5 separate regions of the Homo sapiens genome follow, and regions 1, 2, 3 and 5 are each linked to region 4. The links are contacts of gene promoters, found by promoter capture Hi-C in blood cells and fetal thymus (Javierre and others, 2016). All regions are on one chromosome and are shown on one strand. Each heading gives the region's core, a stretch centred on a gene start or on the middle of the fragment in contact. The rest is flanking DNA. Distances are from core to core; before and after follow the strand shown.

The links. The method cuts DNA at HindIII sites, captures the fragments that hold promoters and counts their contacts. A CHiCAGO score of 5 or more calls a contact.
Region 1: a fragment that was not itself captured here is called in contact with the fragment with the promoter of PLA2G12A in region 4 in 2 of 17 cell types (total B cells and naive CD8 T cells); the score reaches 6.1 in total B cells.
Region 2: a fragment that was not itself captured here is called in contact with the fragment with the promoter of PLA2G12A in region 4 in 3 of 17 cell types (activated CD4 T cells, fetal thymus and naive CD4 T cells); the score reaches 6.1 in activated CD4 T cells.
Region 3: the fragment with the promoter of CYP2U1 here is called in contact with the fragment with the promoter of PLA2G12A in region 4 in 4 of 17 cell types (total B cells, naive CD8 T cells, fetal thymus and 1 more); the score reaches 10.7 in total B cells.
Region 5: a contact is called between a fragment that was not itself captured here and the fragment with the promoter of PLA2G12A in region 4, in 3 of 17 cell types (total B cells, activated CD4 T cells and total CD8 T cells). The highest score is 8.5, in total B cells.

What each region holds. Positions count from the first base shown.
Region 1 is chr4:108,610,317-108,615,595 of GRCh38, reverse strand. The region is part of intron 1 of RPL34-DT (RPL34 divergent transcript); the gene reads left to right. Among named protein-coding and RNA genes, the nearest start is that of RPL34-DT, 7.5 kb to the left of the region's middle. RefSeq lists an enhancer at 3,287-4,844. The HindIII fragment of the contact is 918 bases long and covers 2,617-3,534 here.
Region 2 is chr4:107,997,602-108,002,947 of GRCh38, reverse strand. The region is part of intron 1 of HADH (hydroxyacyl-CoA dehydrogenase); the gene reads right to left. Among named protein-coding and RNA genes, the nearest start is that of HADH, 10 kb to the right of the region's middle. The HindIII fragment of the contact is 2,945 bases long and covers 40-2,984 here.
Region 3 is chr4:107,927,723-107,933,181 of GRCh38, reverse strand. CYP2U1 (cytochrome P450 family 2 subfamily U member 1) reads right to left here and starts at 1,633. Exons shown (of 5, transcript NM_183075.3): 1 at 1,049-1,633. The coding sequence starts at 1,538. CYP2U1-AS1 (CYP2U1 and SGMS2 antisense RNA 1) reads left to right here and starts at 1,063. Exons shown (of 7, transcript NR_125929.1): 1 at 1,063-1,211. The region is part of intron 1 of LOC107986298 (a long non-coding RNA gene); the gene reads left to right. It overlaps LOC124900751 (a long non-coding RNA gene), which reads left to right and starts at 1,597. Exons shown (of 2, transcript XR_007058221.1): 1 at 1,597-2,209; 2 at 3,279-5,037. RefSeq lists enhancers at 896-965, 1,026-1,095, 1,756-2,263 and a silencer at 1,306-1,895. The HindIII fragment of the contact is 6,450 bases long and covers 1-2,912 here.
Region 4 is chr4:109,727,906-109,733,262 of GRCh38, reverse strand. It overlaps PLA2G12A (phospholipase A2 group XIIA), which reads left to right and starts at 3,193. Exons shown (of 4, transcript NM_030821.5): 1 at 3,193-3,661. The coding sequence starts at 3,454. It also overlaps a transcript of CFI not described here. RefSeq lists enhancers at 2,199-3,075, 3,735-3,804 and a silencer at 3,065-3,404. The HindIII fragment of the contact is 6,805 bases long and covers 2,808-5,357 here.
Region 5 is chr4:108,632,904-108,637,662 of GRCh38, reverse strand. No RefSeq gene overlaps it. Among named protein-coding and RNA genes, the nearest start is that of RPL34, 15 kb to the right of the region's middle. The HindIII fragment of the contact is 4,333 bases long and covers 42-4,374 here.

The sequences.
Region 1 (5,279 bases), core at 1,826-4,325, 1.1 Mb after region 4:
CTAGTAAGACTGACCCCTCCCAATGTTGTTCTACTTTTTCAGGGTTTTCTTGACAATTCTTACTGATTATTACATACAAATTTTTAGCATCAACTTGTTTAACTCCAAACAAAAGTTGACATTTTTATGTGTCAAGTTTGTGTATTAGCTTAGGGATACTTGACATCTTTATGATCCTGAGTCATCTTATCTAAGAACATGGAATATCTGTTTGCTGTGTCCTTAAAGTTTTATCCCTAAAAGCTCTGTACATTTCTTATTAAGTTTATCTCTAGGTATTTTATCTGTTTTGCTGTTAACATAAGTGGTATACTCTTACCCACTACTCCATTTAATTGTTTTCTTTTAAATTGAAGGCTATGGATTTTTGTTTATTCATGTATGCCCTGCTACCTTACTGAATTATCTTATGATTGGTATTAACTTTTTATTGATTTTATTTTTTTCAGATATTACCTCCTCCTTTCTAATTCTTATGCCTATTATTCAATCCCATTGGCTTATATCTCAAATGCAATACTAAATATAAATAGTAGATAGATTAATGGCATTTTTGTCTAATTCCTGAATGCAGGAAAACATCCATGTTTCTCCACTATGTCATATGTTAAGAAAATAGCCACTGATTACTATTTATTTATTTTTTTTACCATGTCAGGAAGGGATATTAATTTATGAATTGCCTTCTTACTATCTATTAAGATGAGAGTTTAAATTTTCTCTTTAGATCAACTAATGTAGTGAATCATATTGGAGGAGGGTGATGGGGCGCCTTTTCTAATTTGCGTAAGACATCATGGTTTTCATGTCTCACTGGCTGTTCTTCTGCCTGGAATGCTGTTCCCCACGTATCTGCATGGCTTGCTCCCATTTCCTTTATGCCTTTGCTCAAGGTCACTTTTGAAATGAGGCCCATCCTAATCATCTCATTTAAATTGCACTTTTTGCTGTCCTCCATTGGCATTTTTAGTTCCTCCCACCAGGTTCTTTTTTTCCTCACACTTATCACTTTCTAACATACTATATATTTATTTATTGTGCTTATTGTGTGTCGTCTGTCTCCACTACAAGTGTACTCTGTCTCCACTACAAGTATACTCCATGAGGCTAGGAAGTTTGGTCCTTTTTTTCTTTTTTCCTTTTTTTGACTTACATGTTTCCAATACCTAGAGCAGTGCTTGGCAAACAGTAAGCATTCAAAAATATTTTTTAAATGAATGAATAAGTAGAGATTAGCGCCTACCAAGGAATTATTCAAGAAGAATATCAAATAATAAAATTTAGTATTCTAGCGAAGGTTAGACTTAACAGCTATGGAGATAAAGTAAAGAGATTAAAAGCATTTTCATTGTAGAACTTTTACACGTTTTTCCATTATTGGGCCTCATAGCCTATATTGCACCATGAATCAATGCCTTTTATTAATCTCGTGATTATTTGTGAATGGCCCAATTATAGTCATATGTTGCTTAATGACAGATACATTCTGAGAAATATGTTAGGTGATTTCGTCTTTGTGTGAACATCATAGAGTGTACTTACACAAACCTAGATGGTAGAGTCTACTGCACACCTAGGCTTTATAGTATAGCCTTCTGCTTCTAGTCTACAAACCTGTACAGTATGTTACTGCAGTGAATAGTGTAGGCAATTGTAACACAATGGTAAGTATTTGTGTATCTAAACATATCTAAACATAGAAAAGGTAGAAGAAAAATATGATATAAAAGATAATGGTACACCTGTATAGGGCACTGACTATAAAGGGAGCTTGCAGGACTGGAAGTTGCTCTGGGTGAGTCAGTGAGTGAGTGGTGAGTGAATGGGAAGGCCTAGGACATTACTATACACTATGGTAGACTTTATAAACACTATACACTTTGTATACACTATATATATATTTATATATAAAAAGATAAATATATATACTCTATATACACACTATATATATGTTTTATATACACTAAATTTATAAAAAGTTTTTTCTTCAATAATAGACTAACCTTAATAAGCTTACTGTTACTTTTTTACTTTATAAAGTTTAAAAAAAATTTAACTTTTTGACTTTTTGGTAATAACACTTAGCTTAAAACACAAACACATTGTACAAGTTTTGCTACAAAGAGTTAAAATATCAGAGCCACTCTAAATAACCACTGTAAATTTTAGAAATAGGAGTTTGAAACAAATTAGATTTTTCTAATAGAAATGTTCTGAGCCTAAAGCCCTAAAGGGGAGTAAGGAAACCAATTAACTTTAATTTAAATAATCATGTCTTAAGTAGCAAATGAGCGAAGTTCTATTGTTAAAGAACAACTGTACTAAATCCCCGAAAGGTTAGATTCAAAATGGTATAAATACAGTGGTTTCACATCTTACTAATGAAATAAATTTCTATTGGTCATTGTAACCTCTGCTTCTTGTCTTACTGGACATTGTTACTGAGGGTGGAGGAAGGGAATGATTGAGATTAAGGGCAGAATAATTATGTGCAATTCCCATTGATGTTCCTATTGTTAGTAACTTTTTTAAAAGCAACCAATGAAACAGCTAATAATTTTATTCCTGGGAAAAAATAAGAAAATCTGAGCAAAGCTTATTTTCTTCTTTTAAGCTTGTATATATAGTATATGATTTTCTGTTTGTACTTGCTATTTAAAAACAATGTATTTATAATGATTGAGGTCACCATGGTGTTTTATATACAAACATGCCCCCTATTTACATCCACAATGACTGAATTTCTGCCAATGTCTATAAGCATTAAAGCAACCATCAAAAATGTATTAATAAGGCATATATTATTAATAAGGTATAATACAGTAGATACTAAACTCATGCCTGGAGTTTTATTCTGGATGAGTTAATGTAGTAAAGTAGGAAGAGAGTGAGTTTAGCAAGCAGTTTGAAGCCAGACGATGGAAAGTTTTAAATGCTATGCTTAAAGGCTTAAATTGTTTCTCTCGTGCCTTGTCTTTTGATTTCTTTCTCCTCACGTGCTACCTTTGTGAACTTCAGAAAGCAAGTTAACCTCACTGAGACTGTCTCTTTATCTGTAACATGGAAGTGGGAATCCCATATTGTGGGTGTGCTGCGGGAATTAACGGAGATAAAGCACGTAGCTGAGGCTGGCACACCATGGCTGCTCAATAGATAAATGGTCTTAGTATTGTTTTCTAGAAATGAAATGCTGCCTTCTGCTCTTCCTTATAACCAGTTTTGCACATCACTGTTACACCTTATACCTTACTAATGTTTGGTGTGTTCTTAGGAGAACATTTTTATTTCCTTGTGTTATTTTGGGGAACTCTAGAAAAACCACTATAGAATTTATCAAAATGGAAACATAGCATGGATTGACAGAAAAGGGCAAAAGAGTTAAAAGGGTTAGTGTGTCAACTCCTTGACTTTCTGGAGATCCTTTTTTTTTTTTTTTTCCCAAAACGTAGCCACTGCCTTTGTGTCTTGTTCCACGTCCTGTGTCTTGTTCCAATTATTTATGCAAATGAAGACAATTGTTTTCCTATGAAAGCTTGGTGAAAAGATGCTATAGAAAAATCCAGTGCATTTTCATTATTGCTTGCTCAACAGCAATACTCTTTTGTAGCAAGAAGAAAATAATTTTGCAAAATGCTCCCCCACCCCCACATGAAAAGTAAAAAGTACATAATATCATGTTTGTGTTGAAACTTTTTCTTCCAAAATGTCATAACCCCATACGAAAGAGAATTAAAATCCCATTATTTTAATTTACATCTAGCCACAAGATAAGTAAAGTTATCATTGAAATTCTAATTAAATGGGATGATTGACTAAGGTAGCACATCAAAGAAGAGAAGTGAATATGATAAGTCGAAGACTTATTAATTAGTCTGCGTGGTAGAAATTCCAGGGATGTCAAGCTGAGCCTGCTTCAAGGAGAAAAAAAGCAGACAAGAAAACGTTCGTTTCTTTGAAGTTAGGAACTGAGATAGTGATGGAGGTAATTGCGTCTGACTGGATCCAGTAATGAAGAGCTGTAAATCAGACTGCAGAATCGAAAGGAAGATTCAAGTAACGAATGTGGCTGCCTCCCCCTGCTGTGAAGAAACAGAATGCAGAGCGCACTAATTGACCCAGCCTATTTCCCAGTAGTTCTCTGTTATTATTTATTAATTTTTAATTTCTGAATTATTTACGTCCTGGGAAATTATTCTTGACAGGCTGTTAGGCGTGCCAAAGTTAATGGAGGAGGAAAGGACTGGTACCAGAATTAGCAGGGATGTAGTCACAGGCTACTGGATTTAATGATTTTGGAAAGAAAAATTGATTTCACACAGTGCGTCACTTTATACTACTTTAGGGATACACCAGCTATTTGATTAATTGAGGAATAACCAATTCAAAGTATATTTGAAGTGTAAATGAGTCACAGTGCTCAGCTGTTTACTTTTCTCTCTTTCTGAGAGATCTGAATTTTCTTCAAGCTGATGATTAAAAGCCAATGAAGACACACTTGCATGCTTTGAATGCACACCTGTTTGATTCATATTAAACTCAGAAGGGAGGAAAACCCTGAAGTACATGAGAAGGTAGTTTCACTTATTTTTTTTCTCCTTTCTAATCGCTTTATGTGATTTCTTTCCTCCAGCGTATAGCACAGCAGTAGTTGCAATCTGCATCCCTTAAGAACGAGGCTCAAGAAAATTTCTCATTTGCTTTATGACCTATGAGCACAGTCAGAAAGAAGCAGTGCTTGCTAATGAATAGAAGAACCAAGTAGAAAAAATGTATTAACAGAAAACAATGACTTTAATGAATAAGGGAAGAGGATTAACCTATTAGGAAAATGAGTGAGGCAGAAATATGCCATCGCCATCCAGGCTAAAAGCCCTGTGTCATTTCTGTCTTCTCCCTTTCCGGGCTCCCTCATTAGCCACCCTCTTTGTTCAGCTATCTTTGGCCTAGTCCTCTAACTGGTTTTCTTAGGTCAAGTCTTCCTCTTCAATTATATTCTATACCGGTGGTTCTCAAATTTTAATGTGCAAACAAATTGCTTGGGGCTCTTGCTACTGTACAGGTTTAGATTCTGTGGGTCTGGGATGGGGACCTGAGATTCTGCATTGCTAGTAGGCTCCCAGGTAAAGCCCATGCTTCTGGTCCTTGACCACTCTTTGAGCAGCAAGATTCTACAAAACTCTGACAGGCACATTTTCTTTAAAACACTGATTTTAACCATGTAACTTTCTCATTCAGACACTTTAAGTGATTTTCAGTGCTTACAGTTAAATACAGATTCC
Region 2 (5,346 bases), core at 263-2,762, 1.7 Mb after region 4:
GCTTAGACCAGTGCCAGGCATGTGAAGGTGCACAAAGCTTGTTAGCTGCTATTTTATTCACTACACTTGGTGCTTCTACTTTCTCCTGAGCCATTAAATTCCTAAACTCTAGTAATATGGCTTATTTCAGTCTGTTAGTGCTGCTATAACAAAATACCAAAGACTGGGTAATGTATAAACAACAGAGATCAAGATCATCAGCATGTTCAGTGTCTGGTGAGGGCTGTTCTCTGCTTCCAAGATGGTGCCTTGCTGCTGCATGCTCTGGAGCAAAGGTCCCCAACCTTTTTTGGCACCAGGAAGACATGGGAGACAATTTCACGGAAGACAATTTTTCTACCGTCTTGCAGGGAAGAGGGGATGGTTTAGGGATGATTCAAGTGCATTACATTGATTGTGCACTTTATTTCTATTATTATTACATTGTAATATATAATGAAATAATTATACATCTCACCACAATACAGAATTAGTGGGAGCTCTGAGCTTGTTCTGCTGCATCTAGATGGTGCCATGTGGGGATAATGGGAGACAGTGACAGATCATCAGGCATTAGATTCTCACAAGGACACGAAACCTAGATCCCTCACATGCACAGTTCACAATAGGATTCATGCTCCTATGAGAATCTAATGCAACTCTTGATCCAACAGGAGGCAGAGCTCAGGTAGCAATGCAAGTGATGGGGAGCAGCTGTAAATACAAATGAAGTCTTGCTAGCTGCTCACATCCTTCTATGTGGCCCGGTTCCTAATGGGCCACGGACCAGAAGTTGGGGACCCCTGCTCTGGAGGGGACGAGCACTGTGTCCTCATATGGCAGAAGGGAGAAGAGGCAAAGTTGGTCTCTCAAGCCCCTTTAAATGGCACTAAGCTGTTCATGAATACAGAACCCTCATGACCTAATCACCTCCTAAAGGCCTTATCTCTTAATACTGCTGCACTGGGGATTCAGCTTCGACATAAATTTTGGAGGGAACACAAACATTCCTATCAGAGTAGCTTCTTCCACCACCACTGCTGCATGAAATTAGATACAGTTGGTCCCCCCTTTATCTGTGGTTTTACTTTCTGTAGTTTCAGTTACCAACAGTCAACTATGGTCCAAAAATATTAAATGGGAAATTATAGAAATAAATGATGCATGTTTTAAATTGCATGTCATTCTGAGTAGTGTGATGCAATCTTGAATTGTCCTGTCTGGGAGGAGACTCATCCCTTGGTCCAGCATATCCACACTGTATACTACCCAATCCATTAGTCACTTGGTAGTTGACTGGGTTATCAGATCAAAAAGACATAGTATGTATAGGATTTGGTACTATCTGCAGTTTCACGCATCCACTGAGGGTCTAGGAATGTACTCCCTCCCCTCGTAAGGGGGGACTACTGTAACTTATCAATGGTCTACTAAATTGCTAAAGTCAATGCCTGTTCTTTGGCTTCATCTTCTACAACAGCTCTGTACATTGCCAATAAAAGTTTCATTTTTGAAACTCTTCAGTTTCTTATCTGTCTGTTCCTTTTAGCCATATTAATTGACCTCTCTTGATCTTCTAAGCCTATAAACAAGGACTTCCTTCAAGGTTCTGTTTCCAATATAATTTCCTTCTGAAATTCCAATCGTTCTCATACTTCCAACTGTGCCTGAAACCAAAATAATCTATCTAAGCTGCAGTTATCACCTTGACCCTAAAATCAATTCTCCTTGGCCTTCATTACTGGTACCACTATTCTGTAGGTCACCATTTTCTGGACAACACTTTTTCCTTAATCCCAACCATTAACTGCTGTCCAGAAATGTTCTATCCATTATTCAGGCCCATTTCAAATGCTACCCTCTCCATGAAGCCTTTTTCCAAATGAATGTACTTTCTATTTTGAAACCTCAGAACTAGATTTTTACTGCTCTTATTGTACTACTTTACACCAAAGTAAACTGTGTCATTTAGATCTCTGTCTAATCTCTGCTCTTAGATTTAAAATCCCTTAATGGCAGAAATTGATTTGGTCTTTGTAGCCCTTAGTACTTATCACATGCCTTGAATATGATAGCTGGTCAATAACTGCTAAATAACAAATGCTTTGGACGGTAGTAACCCGATTCTGTAGTCTTCCCCAGCCACACCACACGTCTCCCTCCTCTGTGCTATCTCATGGCTCTGTGCCCTTGTTCATGTGGTTTCCTCTGCCATACATGTCCGGCTCCCTCATTGCTGCTTCATGGACTTCAACTTACCCTTCATAATCTAACATGGACACCATCTCTCCTTTAGTGAAACTTCTCCCAACCCTTAGTAGAGGTAATCACTTCTTTTGTGCCTCTAGTGATTTGCAGATACAGCAGATCTTTTGTGCAGGAATTCAAATACTGAAAGAAAATAACTGGGTGTGGCGCTGGTGTGAACCACCAATGGCTGCTCAGTTATGTAATGGCAGCCCAGTCCCCAGGATGTGAACAGAACAGAGAAATAAAAACTTAACTGGTTATAGACTATTTCATGTCATAAGAATCTCACCGATTTCAGAATAAAAGTTATTAACCAACCAGAGCATAGGAGAAATCCCAGATGTGAAAGATGAATGATACACTTGAAATAGAAAAGCTAACCATACCAACCTTTTCTTCTTTAAAAAACTGATATGTAATAGCTGTACATACTTTTGGGGTACATGTGACATTTTGATACCTGCCTAAAATGTGTAATGATCAAATCAGGGTAACTGGGATATCCAACACCCTAAACACTTATCTTCTCTTTGCCAACACCAACTTTAGATGATGAAATCAAGATAGTACGGAGAGACCTTTCAAAAGTGCTGTTGCATCATCCACTTCAGGTTGTCAAGCTGCTGTTACCACAAATCCCAATATAGGGTGCTTAGGAACACTCCTATCTACAGGCCAATGAGAATTTCCAGTAAATACAAATTTCACAAACATACAGGCAGTACAATGTATACATATATCTTTTAACATAAGCTTTTTTAATGTCCCTTTTTCCTTAGCATAAGATATATATACACACTATATGTCATATCACATCTTAAGTATTTAAAAACCATACTTTAAGGTAAGGTATGTAAACTATTATAACTTTCATCTGTTTCAGATCAAATCCCAGATATGACAGGTAGGCTGTCTGTGCCTTCATTACAATTAGTTGTTCATACCTGTATTTCTTCCACTAGACAGTAGGTTTCTCAAGAGCAGCAATCACATCTTACTTTTTACCTGGCCTGATGTCTAGCACAAGGGAGATATTTCATACTCATGAAATGAACACTTGAATGACAGAGCTATTTTTTCATAAGTCTCAATTTGTAAATTATTTTAGAAATAAGTTCTCAAGAAGTCATGACTGGTTTTGTTGCTAGAAACCTTTATGATAAACTTTGTGTAAGCATCAAGTTACTTTAAAATTATGAGAAGTCACGTTATTAGTTTGAAAAGGATAGTAAGGAAAAAAAAGGAGCTAATAGCCAGAGTCTAGTCAATTACCAAGTGGAAAAAATGCCACTAAAGTCTCTCTCTGTTATTTTGGTGAGCAGATTAACTGCTTTCTAGTACTGGTGGTTGTGACGCTAGGTAAAAGGGGAAATGTAGGGCAGTTGCTATGCGTTGCCCAATGCAAGATCAATATTCTTTAAGTGGTATCCAGCCCTGTGATTTCAAAATGGATGTGTGCTTAATTCACTCCAACATGTGAATGTGTCTTATACCTTTCATCCAAGAGGCTGTAAGGCTAGAGGCATGCCAACCCTGTGTCTGTGCCTGTCTGTGAGGGGCACATGTGTGAATCAGGTCAGAGATGGCCACAGACACATAAGCTCACTGCTCTCCAACACAGGTTTCTTCTCTATCACAGAAGGGAAACTAACACACCTAGCTTCTCAACTACTTTAAGAGATTGGCGAAAGCATTTATTGTTCAGGCTTATTAGCTACAGATAATCAGGATCATCAATTTTGAGAGGAGGAAGACAACCCAGAGATCATTCAGTGTGGCGGCTCTCAAATGTTTTAGCCATGAACACCTTTTTCCATAAGAATGCATATTGAAGACCAATATGTACAACAAAGGTCAGAGAAGGAATCTTTACCAACCTTTCGGGAACCATGAAGGAGATTCATGAAATCTCTAATGTCCATCACAGTATAATGTTAAAAACCTCTGATCTCATACCCATTAGGATGGCTATTACTAAGAAAAAAAAACAAAAAAACAAAAAGAACACAACTATTGCCTCATGCATGACAGTCTTAACACCACCACAAGGCCAGTAGCTCCCTACATCTGCCTCTCAACTCCAGCCCTTCTCTTGGCCTCACCTTCTCCCCAACTTCACCTATTAACTAAGCCTAAAAATCAGCCGGGCGCGGTAGCTCACACTTGCAATCCCAGGACTTTGGGAGGCTAAGGCGGGCAGATCATGAGGTCGGGAGTTAGAGACCAGCCTGACCAACATGGTGAAACCCTGTCTCTACTAAAAATACAAAAATTAGCCAGGCATGGTGGTGCACGCCTGCAATGCCAGCTCCTCAGGAGGCTGAGGCAGAAGAATTGCTTGAACCTGGGAGGTGGACACTGCAGTGAGCCAAGATCACGCCTCTGCACTCTAGCCTGGGTGATAGAGAGAGACTCTGTCTCAAAACAAAACAAAACAATCATTTCCAGTTAGTAAGCCTACTCCCCAAGATCCTCTCAGCCCTAAGCTAGATGTCCCCCATATGCCCTGTAACATCCCTGCATCTGTGTACCACAGCACCTACCAAACTGTGTTATAGTAATCTGAACTCCTCTACTGTAGGCTCCTGACCAAATGTCATTCATCTTTGTACACTGAGAACCTAGACCCTGCCTGGCTGTGGCTGGCCCTCAGGGAATGTTGACTGAATAAAGACATTTGTTGGTAAAGTCAAGATGAGACCTGGTGGCTCTTTCCACTGCTGTAGCTGATGGCCTCTCCTGATAACGTAACCTCTTATTTAGAAAATAACTACAGAGAAACAAGTACAATTCATTCTCCTGAGTAATTCAGTAACACCCAAGTTACCGCCAACTTTCTGGGATGGAGAAGGCAGTGGAGAAATGAACTGCAAAAAAAGAAAGGCCTTCTTCTTCTCCTTTCATAGACATCTGTTATTTTTACAACAAATGAGGAGGACTCTTCCTGGCAGTTTGAGTGACCACAATTTAAATCAATCCATTGAGAACTCATGTTTTATATTACAGTGACCTACATGCTGGTAAGACCTTGAGGACAAGCAGTCTGCAATGGAAAAAAAAATATTTGAAGGCTATGTCCTCAGCTCCATGACTTTTCTAGGCCTGGTGGAAGGCAGG
Region 3 (5,459 bases), core at 384-2,883, 1.8 Mb after region 4:
AGGCACCTCATATAAGTGGATCATACAATATTTGTCTTTTCCGTTTAAAATCCTGATGCAAAACTCTGGCTTTATCAGATTCTGAAAAGCCTAGATCTTTCTTTGCCATGTTATAGGGGCAGGAAATAGCATTCATTTAATAGATACTTGAACTCCTACTATGTTTCAGACAGCAATGACTCTGTCCTCCTAGATGTCAGAACAGTGGTGAAGACTGACATCCAGGCCCAAGGTCATAAAGTTATGTAGCGTCAGTTTTGAAAAGTGTAGTGAAGGAAAAGTGCTTGGGCAAGGGACCTGGTTCTAACAAGGGAGGCTACCCTACTTGCAGAGGCTGTGAGAAAAGGCTTCCCCAAGGAAAAGGCATTTAACACCTGACTGATGCGTAGGAGTGACTCAGAAAAGAAGTCAGAGACCTAAGCCAGCCAGTAAGACAAAGGGGGACGGTAGAGACAGGTTAGATTGGACATTTTATTGCAGCAGATAACACGTTTTCCAACCCCCAAAAATGTCCAATTTAGACTCCCATACGCAGGAATCAGAGGCTATGAACCAAAGCCGGAGATTTGGTAATAGGCTTCTTCTGTGTTTTCTGGACTTTTTATCTTATTGGAAATTATCTTCTTAAATTCTTACATTCGAAACCCACAAGGTAAAAAGAATATCCTTCCCTCTTTCTAACATGGGGGCCAAAGTTTCTCTCCGAGGTCACAGCTGGTGGAAGGGAAGGCTACTTTTGGAAAGATGGAACCTGGCTTGCCACCTTGTCCTTCCGCCATCCCTATTACTCTCCCTCAATCTCCGGATGACTTTTCTACTTATGATCTTGGAGTATGAGCAAGTCACGCGTCCGTCACTACTTGATGGGATCTTAAAGGCATCAGAAAGGAGAAGCGCCGCCACCACCATCACCTGTTAGTTCAGGATGCAGGTGTGAGGCAGCCTGGGGGCGCGGGCGGCCGGAAGGGGCACAGGAACTGCAGCCCCCACGCACCTGGAGACTCATCCGCGGCATCCGCGTACCCACAGCCCACGACCTCCCGCTCACCCTTCTCCTTGGTCACGATGGAGATGAGCGGCACCCGCGGGCGGTCGCTGAAGACCTCGGCCTGCTGCACCAGCGCCTCGCGCACGCTGTGGAAGTCGCTGAGGACCACCACCAGGTAGTGGCCGATAAAGAAGCTGAAGATGCTGCCGTACACGCGGGCTAGGTGAGCCAGGAGCACCTGCGGGCCTATGACCGAGGGATCAATCCCTGCGGCCCTGGTCCTGCTGCTCAGCCAGCTCCGCCGCCGGAGGAAGGGAGGCAGCAGCACGTGACCGAAGTTGCCCACCAGAGGCCAGGGCGTGGGCCCGGGCGGGATGCCCCGCGCCCGGCGCCTCCGCAGCCAGCTCCAGCCCAGCAGCGCTACGAGGCCGCATAGCAGCAGCGCGCCCCCGCTGGGGTCCAGCCGCAGCAGCCCCAGAGGCGCACGCAGGAGGCGCGCGGGCCAGGGCGGGTCCTCGGCCGGCGGCTGCGACGGCCCCGGAGACGACATGGTCCGGGCGCCGGCGGCCTCGGGTTCCCCTTGCTGCCTGGAGGAGACGCGCACGCAGCTGCCTGACCCGCGGCGCCAGTGTCCTGCTCTGCTCTGGAAGGTCGGGGGCGGGCAGGGGGTGTAGGAACGCCCCCGGATTGGCTGCGCCGCGCGCATTCTCCCCGCCGCCGCCACTCAGCGACGCCTGGGCGGAACCTGGAGGCGCGCCGGCTGCCTGGCGGAGGGGGTTGGCGGGCTAGCAGGCGGGGGACCTGAAGTTTGCCCCGAAGTCCGGTTACGACCCTTTGCAGGGTCGGGCTTGGCGGTGACTGTCCCTGAAACTGGGATGCTGGCAACACAACCTTGCGCTCTGATTGGCTGTTGGTTTCCCTTGTGTCATTCGTTTGTCATTATCACTCGTTTGTCAGTTGACAAACACAAACGCATGGTTATGAAGTGCATAAACCGTGTTAGGATCTGTACTGAGTGTGGGAAACTGGTGAACAGGCCCGTGAGATGGGTCGGCCTTAGCACCTGTGCCCTGAGCTGGGAGAATGGGGTCAACGCCCTATTCCTGCATGCTTCGGTGTAGTAGTGAAAAGACGGGGTTCCTTATCTAAACTGGGATTCGCAGCACCCTTTCCTCCACGCAGAGACAGCAGGATGCTGGGAAGCCGTGGAATGCAGAATCTGTGGGTGTCGGCTTGGCAGCCAACTCTGCGGAAGGGATGATGGCGGGAGTGGGGGGAGCGAGGGGCGGGCAGCGAGGCACGAGGAGTCACGTTCTGAGAGCTTGCCCTGGGCTAGAAAACTTATGCGGAGAGCGAAAGCTGTGTCCATTCCTGCGTGTGGCCTGGGTGCATTAGAAAATGTACTTAAATCCAGAAATAGCGAAACCAGAATTTGCTTGGTGGATTTAAGTAGCTAGAAATATGAAAAGAAGATAACCGGTTGAGGGAGGGGTGGCAATATTATTATTGGTGTTAGACAACACTTGAAAGGCTGAGGTTGAAATATTAGATATGAATTGTATAATACTTTAAAAACAAAGTATTACTTTATTTTATCTTCTCAGATAATGGCTTTCCTGATAAGGGCTTCCCTTTCAGTCTTGTTTAGGCCAAATCCTGTAGTTTCTGTTCAAGTTGGATTGAGCATAGAATTGTCTGTACTGGGCCATTTTTCTAGCCGTTTCATTTTTCTCCATACATTAAAAGTTTGAACACCACGCTGTACCTATAAAAATGTGATCAAAGAAAGCATAGTGAGTCCTCAAATAAATACATGATCCATTTTATTTTTCTATAAACAAGTGATGCCAGTAGGATATGTTAAATTTCAAGTCCACTCTGTTCTCATATTCTTTTTGACATGCTTTTCATGTTATTTTAAGCTTATGCACCCCAAACAAAAAAAAAAAACCTCCACACCTCTCATCTTCTATAATTAACCACTACTTGTGAGATTACTTTTCTCATTTTTTTTGAATTTTTGAATTAAGAGAAGTTTTTAAAAATTTAAACTACTTGTTTGCAGATACGATCTTCAACATGACATTCTGGATGTCATCTGATTCTAGGGCTTTGCTCTCTGAAACAGTAGCCACTATATACATCATCCCATACAAGCAATTTAAATTCATAAATGATTTTAAAATAGTTGAAGCTGTGACTAATTTAACAACTCCAACAGCCACCCTTTTATATTGTACAGGATGTAACTGCACGTGTAGTGTTTTCCTAAATCTCTCATTTTCACTAGGTTAATAGCTGTGCGGGGCAGATAGGAAATCTGGGCTGAATTCAGCCTCTCCTCACCACTATATGTTGAAGTCCTAACCCCCAGTGCCTCAGAATAAGACTGTATTTGGAGAAAGGGCCTTTAAAGAGGTAATTAAGCTAAAATGGAGTCCTGTGGATGGGCTCTTACCAATATGACTGGTGTCTGAAGAGGAGATAAGGACACAGAGAGGAAAGAGGATGTGAGGACACAGTCAGAAGGCAGCCATCTACAAGTCAGGAGAGAGGTCTCAGAAGAAATCAACCCTGCTGACACCTTGAGTTTTGACTTCTAGTCTCCAGAACGGTGAGGATATAAATATAAATTTCTGTTGTTTAAAACATCCAGTCTGTAGTACTTTGTTATGGCTGCCCTAGCAAACGAATACAGGAAGGGATATTGTTCATAATATTATGGATACACTTTTATTTTATTATTATTATTTTTTGCGATGGAATCTCGCTCTTTCGCCCATGCTGGAATGCAGTGGTGTGATCTCGGCTCACTGCAACCTCCGCCTCCCAGGTTCATGCGATTCTCCTGTCTCAGCCTCCCAGTAGCTGGGATTACAGGCCCGCACCACCACGCCCGGCAAATTTTGTATTTGTAGTAGAGACAGGGTTTCACCCTGTTGGCCAGGCTGGTCTAGGACTTCTGACCTCAGGTAATCTGCCTGCTTCAGTCTCCCAAAGTGCTGGGATTACAGACGAGAGCCACCATGCCCAGCTGGATGCACTATTTTAAACATGAAACCACACAGCTCATTCAGTGCTCCTTAAGGATGAATTTCCCCAAATTACATTCAGGGCGATTTTGCCACATAAAGGAATACTTTCTGCTTCATCTCTCTTATTTTATATAGGTAAAAAAATAATAGCAGAAGCAGTAAAGGAAGAGAATACTAAGAGATCTTTTGGGTGGGCAGAAGTGGTAAGAAAGATAGAGGATTATGGGAAAAAATCATTTTTATTGAGACCCTAAAGATAATTTTAAACCACCCACTTTCCTACCTATATCCTTGTTCGACATGGATTTTGGCCGGAATTGTTGGTCACAGTATATCCAAAATAGCTGAGTACTTATTTTGTTATAAAGAGTGGTATTAAATTACTCTATTTGTAAAACTACAATTGTTCAGTTGGTTTGTAATTCTCTGGGAGGTAAATGCCACCACACACGACACCCATCCAGAATCAATGAGCATGAACAGAGAGAGTGCATGGCTTAAGAAGGGTTTGCAAAATGCTAATGAAAAGAGAAAGTAGAAATGTTATTAGCACTATTTAGTTGCACAACTCCACTGGCCATTTAAAAATTAACACCTTTGTTCCCTTTAAGTTCTTATGATTTGCTTCATATATATTCCGTTGAGTGTCTTCTATATATGTGTTTATGTACTCTCTGAGCCTCCATGTTCCTGAACTGAAATTGGGATGATAAATATACCTATACCAAGCATAGGGATTAAATAAAATAATTAAATAATAATAATTAAATAATAGCACAATGTCTAGCAACTAGTACTCAATACATAAAAGCTGTAATTATAATAGTTATCACTGGGTTCTTGATAATAGTTTAAACTTAATAGGTTGTCACTATTGCTGCCTCTTATTCACACCTTGCAGATTTACCAGCTTTTTCCAATATTAGAATGTGAGACTTGCCAGGATATTGTTTCCTATATTTAGCCTTTATGTCTTGTATAATGAATAAATAAACGTGCCTATCTTCAGTATTACTTCATTCCTCTCCACTTGCATGTATTATGTATGATTTACTTGGAGAAGAGATGACGGGAGAAAGGCCCCTGAAAAAAATCTAAAACAGTGTAAGGCAGAATCTCAAAAGTCACAAAATCCAATTCCGAAAACATCCCTTTATTTGGTCAAGGTGGTGCCAGGATTAGGACACATTTTTTATTTAACACCAAAATGAACACAATCCAGATGTCCTTCAACAAAAGAGGGGGGCAGGGGAAGGGGAAACTATGGTATACTTATTTGATAGCTCACTACACCACAATAAAAATCAATCAGTTATGACACACTCTACAGTGTGGATAAATATCAAAAAACATGCCAAGTGAAAAAGCCAGGCACAAGAATACATACTAAATAGCTGCATTTATATGAAGTCTGGAACAAACAAAGTGAACCTATG
Region 4 (5,357 bases), core at 1,944-4,443:
CAGTGGCTCATGTTGTAATCCCAGCACTTTGGGAGGCCAAGGCAGGGGAATGACTTGAGGTCAGGAGTTCGAGACCAGCCTGGCCAACTTGGTGAAACCCCATTGCTACTAAAAATACAAAAAATTAGTCAGGTGTGGTGGCGGGCACCTGTAATCCCAGCTACTCGGGAGGCTGAGGCAGGAAAATAGCTTGAACCTGGGAGGCGGAGGTTGCAGTGAGCTGAGATTGTGCCACTGTACTCCAGCCTGGGCAACAGAGCCAGACTCAAAAAAAAAAAATTTATATGATATGGTAAATCAGAGCATGCATCCTGTGTAGTGGCACAAGGCCCCACAGTCAAAAGGGCTCTGTACTTATTTTAATGCTCTGCTGTTATCACCTTGAAATTCTTTTTTTTTTTTTTTTGAGACAGAGTCTTGCTCTGTGGCCTCGGCTGGAGTGCAGTGGCACGATCTTGGCTCATTGCAAGCTCTGCCTCCCGGGTTCACGCCATTCACCTGCCTCAGCCTCCCGAGTAGCTGGGACTACAGGTGCCCGCCACCATGCCCAGCTAACTTTTTGTATTTTTAGTAGAGACAGGGTTTCACCGTGTTAGCCAGGATGGTCTCGATCTCCTGACCTCGTGATCTGCCCATCTCAGCCTCCCAAAGTGCTGGGATTACAGGCGTGAGCCACCGCACCCGGCCATCACCTTGAAATTCTTAATTTTTGAGCAAGGGGCTCTGTATTTTTATTTTGCACTGAGCCCTACAAATTATACAGATAGTCTGTGGTCAGTGCAGATCCCTGGTATTTAACAGCATCAATTAAGAGGAAAACGTAAACCTTGTAATTACTGCAGCAGAACAACAAATATATAATGATTAAATGTGAAAAGAATGTGAAAATAAAACTTAGAGTCTTGTTTTCTACAAAAATGGTGGTGATTCTCATGGGGAAGACAGTGGAAAGATTTGCTTGAGAGAAAGAGAACAGCTGCATCAAGCCAGAAGAACTGGCATTTGAGAATTTAATCCCTAAGGAGAGATCAGACAAAGAAAACTACGTCTGATTCCTCAGAGTATAGGCTGTAGTTAAGGTGTAAGAAATTAGATGAGATCACAAAGAAGTAAATAAATAGAGAAAGTGGGGGAAAGGAGAGGCTTTGGGTCATAACTGAGGGCTGGAACTAGGTTATTTTATTACATTCTATCCTTTCTTTTGAAAGTCTTGTCCCTGGACTAGGGAGTTGTAAGAACCAAGCCTGGTTTAAGGATTCAGGTGGTGGTATCTCAGAGGTAATCTAGTCCAACTTTCATACTTTGGAGCTGAGAAACCAATGTTCCAGAAAGCTAAGACAATGATTCTAAGTTCCCTTTTTAAAATGTATTGAAATGTGTTGTCTAAAAATTAAAAAATAAAAATATCTGTGGTATTTTGTGAAGACAGAGGCCTTGGTTTGGAGTAGATACTGTCACATGACTTCTCACCTCGACTCTTTTATTGTAAAAGAGGAAGATAATAATACCTTCCAGGGAACATTCTTCCCCCTTCTCCATTGTGGTAGGAATTAATCACTGCCCAAGACTCCTGGTTGAGGGGCTGAGTGAAGTGCAGGCAGTCTCCAGCCAGGAGCTACACCGTTTGTTGGGCTACCCTGTTTGTAGGGAGGAATGCCTTTCTATGTTTCTAACTTGCCCAAAGTCTGCATCCTTGTAAAGTAGTGTTCTGAATGTGAGCGATCATATTCATGAAGTGCCTGGCACATAGTAAGCACTCAATAAAGAGGGATGTAATTTTTATGAACTGTGCACTGAACGTTTATTATAAGCTCATTTAGTTTGTAACAAACACAAAAGGCCAAACCTAGAACTTATTGGTAATTCTTATAGAAAGGACACACCTATGCCCAATACTTACTCACTTTCTTTTTTTTTTAGAGTCTCGCTCTGTGCCCCAAGCTGGAGTGCAGTGGTGCAATCTCAGCTCACTGCAACATCCATCCACCTCCTGGGTTCAAGTGATTCTCCTGCCTCCGCCTCCCGAGTAGCTGGGATTACAGGTGCCCGCCACCACGCCCAGCTAATTTTCTGTATTTTTGGTAGAGATGGGGTTTCACCATGTCAGCCAGGCTGGTCTCGAACTTCTGACCTCAGGAGTTCCAGGCCTCCCAAGGTGCTGGGATTACAGGCGTAAACCACCGCGCTTGGTCTGCCCAATACTTTCAACATTGCTCTGGATCTTACTGTAAAATTCTTGGAAACTGCTGTGATACTAAGATAACCAGATATTTACAACTGATACAAAGTACTACTGCAATAGTTATTTATGGATCCCGCACAATGCTGGGGGCAGGGTGGTAGGTACAGAGAAACAAACGTCACTGTAACTATCAAGTTACAAAATCCCTTGAGTAGAAAAACAATGACTTCCTTAAGATTTATTTTACTTTTTACTGTATTTAAGTTTACACTACTGTTTCTTCCTTACCAGGGGAGAATTTTATGATTTTTATGTTGGCCCATTTTCTTTTTCCGGAAAGTCTAAACTAGCATTTAGCTCGTCCTGATTAGAGTCAGGCACCGCCAAGGCATGGGTTGGCATCTTCCAGATCCCGCTCCCCCAACCGCGGCCACAGCAGATCTGGAGGACCGGGAGAGGACGCAAGGAGGAAAAGCCCTGCTCTGCGAGCTGACAGCCGGACTCTGCCCACATTGCCAATGGAACCACGTCTTCAAGCCGGAAACTCAGCTGGACCTCTCGCAGCGCTCTCTGCGAGGGGGCACAGGGGTTATTTTCTCCGATGTTGTCCACACCCAGAAAAGCTTGTCTCTCGGGGCTACTGTGCTGAGCCCCGACTGGTCAGGTTAGGCCACCGGGGTTAGCTCTGCAACTCTTGCTTCACGGTTAACAGCCCGGAGAGCTTTCTTAAAAAATACCGACGCCCACTGCCACCTGGGACAACGTAATCAGGCTCCCTAGAAAAGGGGCTCAGGCCTGGGTACTTTTTAAGGTTCTCTTGTGAACCAGGACCAAGGGTCTTGGGAGGGTGCCGCGGAGACCACGTGGGCATGGAGGCCCCGCCCCCGTTTCCCGCCCCGCGCGCCCCTCCCCCGGTTCCCCGCCCCCCCCAACCCCGCCCCCGCCCCGCCCCACCCCTGCGCGTCCCGCCCCTCCCGTGCGCCGCTGACGCGCCGTGCTCCGGCGCAGGCGCACAGGGGACGGTTGCTGGCCCAGGTGAGCGGGCGCGCTGGTCCAGGTGAGCGGGCGCGTCCCCGCGACGGCGCTGCCTGCCCGAGGCGGTTCACGTAAAGACAGCGAGATCCTGAGGGCCAGCCGGGAAGGAGGCGTGGATATGGAGCTGGCTGCTGCCAAGTCCGGGGCCCGCGCCGCTGCCTAGCGCGTCCTGGGGACTCTGTGGGGACGCGCCCCGCGCCGCGGCTCGGGGACCCGTAGAGCCCGGCGCTGCGCGCATGGCCCTGCTCTCGCGCCCCGCGCTCACCCTCCTGCTCCTCCTCATGGCCGCTGTTGTCAGGTGCCAGGAGCAGGCCCAGACCACCGACTGGAGAGCCACCCTGAAGACCATCCGGAACGGCGTTCATAAGATAGACACGTACCTGAACGCCGCCTTGGACCTCCTGGGAGGCGAGGACGGTCTCTGCCAGTATAAATGCAGTGACGGTGAGGGGGCACCCGGGCCCAGCGAGGGCTCGTGCTTTCGGGGGATTGGGGTGACGGAGATCCTGGAGGTGTGAGTGACAGATGCAAGGCAGACCTTGACGGTGTCCTTCGGCTGTGGAAAAACTTAACCACTGCTAGAATCTTGCCGTTCTAGTGATTGAGCAAGCTGGGTACAAGTTCGCACCACTATTGTTAGAATGTGAGAGGTCACATTCTAACGGAGAGGTGTACCCCCCGTCCCATTTGCATTGCTTCTGAATTACCTTTTCCCCCCCTCAATTGCACCAAGTTGCCGAAGAACTTACTGACGTAGGAATCATGGGAATAGAGTGGAACAGACTGGTTTTAGCTCATTTTTGCTTCTGTAAATTGGATGAACATGCGAAGCAAACTGAGAATTTAAAAACCATGCCGTATTAACTTTCTCTATAATTGATATTAAATGGTTTTTTTTCTGCAAACCCATAGACAATAACTTGCGACCTTTGTACAGACTTTTGGTGTACTCGAGTGTTGAGAAAGGGTTCCGATAACTCTTCTTTCCTTAGATATCAGTGACCCGCCTCCTCCTCATTGTTGGTTAACGTTAATACAGTTATCTTCATTTACTCTTTTAATATTTTTTGAACTTTCTCTTTGAACCTGAGAATTTGTTTGGTGGCGGTATGAGTACTAATCAACTCAGTATTTCAGGCAGAGATAGTTCTTTTGTAGCACATTTTTGAGTGCTTAAATATTTTAATAGGTCAGAAAAATATTGGACTTTTGTTTGGAAATTGAAAATGTTAAGAGAGCAGTTGGGAGATCATGTTTCCAATAAGATTAGCCAAGGTTAGAGTCTCATTATGCTGGCAGCGGAAAATAATCGGGGATCCAGTGACTTCATTGTTGGAACCTGATTGTATAGGTGAACTTAAAAGGAACTGGTATCATGTAAACCTATGATGCCACATGCTGCCTGCAATTTTCAAGATAATTTCTAGTTTTATGTTAATAGAAGTAAAGGATGAACTGTATCTTGTATACTTTAAAGCGCTGAACAGGTGCTGAGACATGTTGCATTGCTTCTTAAATTTGTGCCTAAACGTTACCACCTAAACGTATGCTTCATGAAGATGTTTTTATTCTTGTAGAACTTGTTCGGAGGATTAAGTGCATAATTTAAGGATCAAATAGTTGCCTTTCCTAAAGCAAATGTTACAGTTTTACTTAGTCATTCCTATTCATTATACAAATATTTGAGTCCCAACTGTGCTTCAGATGTTGTTCTAATTTGAGATTCAGCAGTTAATAAAACAGACAAAAATCTCTGTCCGTGGAGCTTGAGTTCTGGTGAGGGAGAGATGGGCAGTAAACTAGTAAATAAGTAAAATTAGGGGAAGTGTGGAGTCTGATCAGGGCAGACGAGGGGCCATGTTGGAGGCAATTTACTCTTCTAAATGGGTTGTTCAGCAAAGGCCTCACTGATGAAAGAATATTTGAGAAGAAATCTGCACGTGGTAAGGGGAGGGAATGTGGTTATTTGGAGAAACAGCATTCCAGACAGAGGGAATAGCAAGTGCAATGGACCTGAGGAGAAAGGCCAGTCAAGGATGACTCTGAAGGTTTTGGCCTGAGCCAAAGGAAGGAAACGGTTGCCATTTACAGAGATAGGGAAGACTTGGAAGGAGTCGTCTTCATAAATTTATTAGTCTAG
Region 5 (4,759 bases), core at 959-3,458, 1.1 Mb after region 4:
TGGTAATTGAATCTTAAAAATAAATAATTTCTAGCTAAGCTTTCAAAAGTATACTTACTAGATTTCATTTTTCAATTCAGAAATTTAAAGAGAATTAATAACCAAAATGGTCTACAACACCATTATACAGACGATTCCTTTTTTTAAAAAATAAGATGACATGTTTGGAGTTATAAATTCAAAGAGTACAAATAATTTTAAAAATGCAAAGCAAATGTCACCTTCCCCTTATCATCTTCTCCCCTCCCCTATTCCTTCTCCCTGAAAGTAACCACTGTTAGATTCTTGGATTGAAGAACACTTTCCCAAGGAATGTTTTACCCTAAGATTAGGAATGGCATTTAAAACAACAGGCTTTAATCACTTCAAAAGAATTTGAACCAGAACCCAGGTTGCAATTTGATTGCACATGTGAAATGTGGCAATGGTGGCTGGGCGCGGTGGCTCAAGCCTGTAATCCCAGCACTTTGGGAGGCTGAGGCGGGTGGATCACGAGGTCAGGAGATCGAGACCATCCTGGCTAACACGGTGAAACCTCGTCTCTACTAAAAATACAACAAATTAGCTGGGCGCAGTGGCGGGCGCCTGTAGTCCCAGCTACTCGGGAGGCTGAGGCAGGAGAATGGCGTGAACCCGGGAAGCGGAGCTTGCAGTGAGCCGAGATCGCGCCACTGCACTCCAGCCTGTGTGATAGAGCGAGACTCCGTTTTAAAAAAAAAAAAAAAAAAATGTGGCAATGGCCTCAGAACCAAAGCCCCGAGTAAATGGCCAGCTATTCCCCCACCATTCCCACCGACACCTTTCAGAGGGAATGAGAAATCAAAGTGCCTGCTCACCTCCAGAAATGATCTTTCCAGAGGTAAAATATTTGGGGTATGCTTAAGCAGCAGCTGTTCCTGCTGTCTGCCAGAAGCCCAGAAAAAAGACTGTCGCCAGGGCTGTCAATATGGTCCTTTCTTACACACTGAGATCAATTTAACAAAACAACACAAAAATACGCTGGCTTAGAAATGACAAGGAATTTAGCCATACACGTTGAAGAGAAAAGTGTGTTTTACATATATCCTGAATAAAGTATCTAACTTTTAAAGAATGTTGTAAAATATTTCCATATGTACATTATATCAAAGTACTTTCCCCAAGTTCAGTTGAAAGGAAATACCCAGAGCATTAGGCCCATCAGAAATGATGTCTCCAGTTGTGGTTTTCAGATGCCCTGCCATGCATTTGCCCAGAGCTAATCAAAGACAGCTTGATACTATCAGCCAGTGTGTGTGTATGGGGGTGTGTGTGTGTAATTCCTTAAAAAGAGAAAAAAAAAAATCATTTTGGGTAAAACATGATACAGGAGGATATCAGTTGGCTTTTTGGTTTATTTCCAATATTATCACTGCTCTTCAATCACTCTAAATGAGAAGACTTCATCCTGGCCATCTTGATGCATTTTCTGTGTTTCTCTGTAAGTAGGTAAGAAGGCAGCTCTTGTACTGCAAGCAGGAAAGAGGCTTACTGAGCATCATTACCATGAACCATGTGCTCTGCGATGTGGACAACACAAGGTATTTCAGCAACCCTCAGAACCTCTGAAATTATGATTATTTATCTTCATTTTTACAGGTGAGGTGACTAAGATGGACAGAAGGTAAGAAAATTGCTCAGTCACCTAACTGGTTAATGGTAGACCTATGATTTAAACCCATGTTTGTCTAATGCCCAACCGTACACAGTTTGTACCACATCGTTGTGAAAGGGCAGTTCAAGATCCATCTGGGTGAAAATCAGCTAGGAGATCTGTTACCATGAAAGTTCTTGGCCTGACTTTCAGAGGTTCTGATTGGGGACATCTTTGATGGAGCTTGGGTATCTGAATTTTAACAAGTTTCCCAGAAGAATCCTAAGTGAATCTAAAGTGTGAGAACCACTGACAATATTGTTAAGCTCAGATTTTTGAAACAGAAAAGGAAATTTCAGAAGACAAACCTCATGGGAGCTTCTGATGTCGATTTCTGAAGACATGGCAATCCCGTGTTTTCTTCACTGCCGATCCTGTCCTTTGCATTACCTCTTAGCTTTGTGTTACATTGAGTAGAGTGATCCTTGACTCCAAACAGATTGAGTTACCAGCTTCCTCTGCTTAAAATTCCCTCAGCAGAAGTCAGTCTTTCAACTCACCATCAGCAATTACAAAACCAAAAATATAAATACTCCTTGAGGAGGGAACATGTTGACTCACATGAAATGAGCATGTGCGTGGGTTTGGGTGCCTCGGGCAGGGATTCTGGGATTATGTCCAGAAAGAGAGCATACATTTAGGGTTAGCATGCCCCTTGGTCCCCTGAACTCTTTGCTTTTGGGGTGGGATATTGGCAGGTGAAAGCCAGAGCAGCGCCCTCTAAAGCATGGGACCCAGAGGAGAGGCCCCTTGTCTGAGGGCCGCACTGGTCCTAGAGATGAATGGCAAGGACCCACACAACCTGGTGTCTGGAGAACTCCCTAACCTCATTTCTGTTGCGCTTTCCCTCAGCTTCAGGACCTCCTCCTGCCTCCGGACTATTCTCTGCTGGAAAGCTCTTTCCCACATATCCTTATGGCCACCCTCCTCACTGCCTTCAGGTCTTTGCTTCGATGTCCCCTTCTTGGGGAAGTCTCCCCTCACCAGGATATTCAAACTGCAACCCTCTACTTCCACCCTGCATTCTATCCCCTTTATCTGCTATATATATATATACTTTTTTTTTTTTTTTTTTTTGATATGGAGTCTCGCTCTGTCCCCCAGGCTGGAGTGCAGTGGCGCGATCTCGGCTCACTGCAACCTCCGCCTCCTGGGTTCACGCCGTTCTCCTGCCTCAGCCTCCTGAGTAGCTGGGACTACAGGCGCCTGCCACCATGTCTGGCTTATTTTTTTGTATTTTTTAGTAGAGGCGGGGTTTCACCGTGTTAGCCAGGATGGTCTCGATCTCCTGACCTCGTGATCCGCCCGCCTCGGCCTCCCAAAGTGCTGGGATTACAGGCATGAGCCCCCGTGCCCGGCATCTGCTTTATATTTTGTATAGCATTTATTGTTCATATCGTGTTTTTTACTTACTTACCTATTGACATATTACTTATTCCTTCATTCATTTATTGTCTGTCAGCCCTCACTGGAAGGTAATCTCCAGTAAGGCAGGGATTTTTGTCTATTTTGTTCATCTTAGTGCCTATACTAGCATTTTGTACATAGTCAACAAATTGTAAATAATACCTGACTGATTGTGAAGAAATTTTAAAAACCAGGGGCTTGGTGTCTTTCCCATCTTACACTGGAGCAGGATATCCTGGCTGTCACTGGGGGACGGCGTGAACTCAGAGATAATGTCGAATGGAGTGAAGGAGAATGATGACGATTTTCATTTAGCAACCTTATCCTCTTTCATCTCCCCCAAATTGTCAAAAAAATGAATCTTCCTGAGGGAATCCCTTGAGAATGAAGCAGAGAGCATGGTTGAAGAGGCAGCAATCAACGCCTTATTTTATCCATGGGATAAACAAGTGGCAAGACTCCATGACTCTCTCTTTTGCTTGTTCTCTCTTAAAAATAGAATTGTAGGGCCGGGCGCGGTGGCTCATGTCTGTAATCCCAGCAATTTGGGAGGCCAAGGCGGGTGGATCACCTGAGGTCAGGAGTTCGAGACCAGCCTGACCAACAAGGCGAAACCCCGTATCTACTAAAAATACAAAAATTAGCTGACCGTGGTGGTGGGTGCCTGTAATCCCAACTACTTGGGAGGGTGAGGCAGGAGAATCACTTGAACCCAGGAGGTGGAGGTTGCAGTGAGCTGAGATTGTGATTGCGCCATTGCATTCCAGCCTGGGCAACAGAGTGAGACTCTTGTCTCAAAAAAAGAAAAAAAAGAAAAAAAAGAGAGAGAATTGTGGGAATTACCAATCAGGAAAATATTTCAACATAAAAATATATTAGCTTAAAATTCTATGGAGGAAATGGAATGGTAATATATGTCAAAAAGAAAAAGGGGTGACACAGTGGCTCACATCTATAATTCCATTGCTTTGGGAGGCCGAGGCAGGAGAATCGCTTTGAGGCCAGGAGTTTGAGACCAGCCTAAGCAACGTAGCAAGACTCCATCTTTTTTTTCTTTTTTAAAACAAAAACCATTTTACAAATTAGCCACGTGTGGTGGTACATGCCTGTAGTCCCAGCTGCTTGGAAGGCTGAGGCAGAGGATTGCTTGACCCCAAAAGTTTGATGTTGCAGTGAGCCAGGATGGTACCATTAAACTCCAGCCCAGTCAATAGAGCAAGACCCTGTCTCTAAAAAAACAAAACAAAATGGAAGAAAAAAGAACGAATATAAAACTTCCAAATGTTAGAAAAGCTTGTTCCTGTCTTTTTGAAAATGGCTACTATACCATAAAAAAGAACAATATCATGTCCTTTGCAGGAACATGGATGGAGCTGGAGGCCATTATCCTTAGCAAACTAATGCAGGAACGGAAAACCAAATTCTGCATGTTCTCACTTATAAAGTGGGAGCTAAATGATGAGGACACATGGACACATAGAGGGAAACACACACTGGGGCCTATTGCAGGGTAGAGGGTGGGAGGAGGGAGAGGACCAGGAAAAATAACTAATGGGTACTAGGCTTAATACCTGCGTGATAAAATAATCTATACAACAAACTCCCATGACATAAGTTTACCTATATAACAAATCTGCACATATACCACTGAACTTAAAAGTTAAAAATAAATAAATAAAT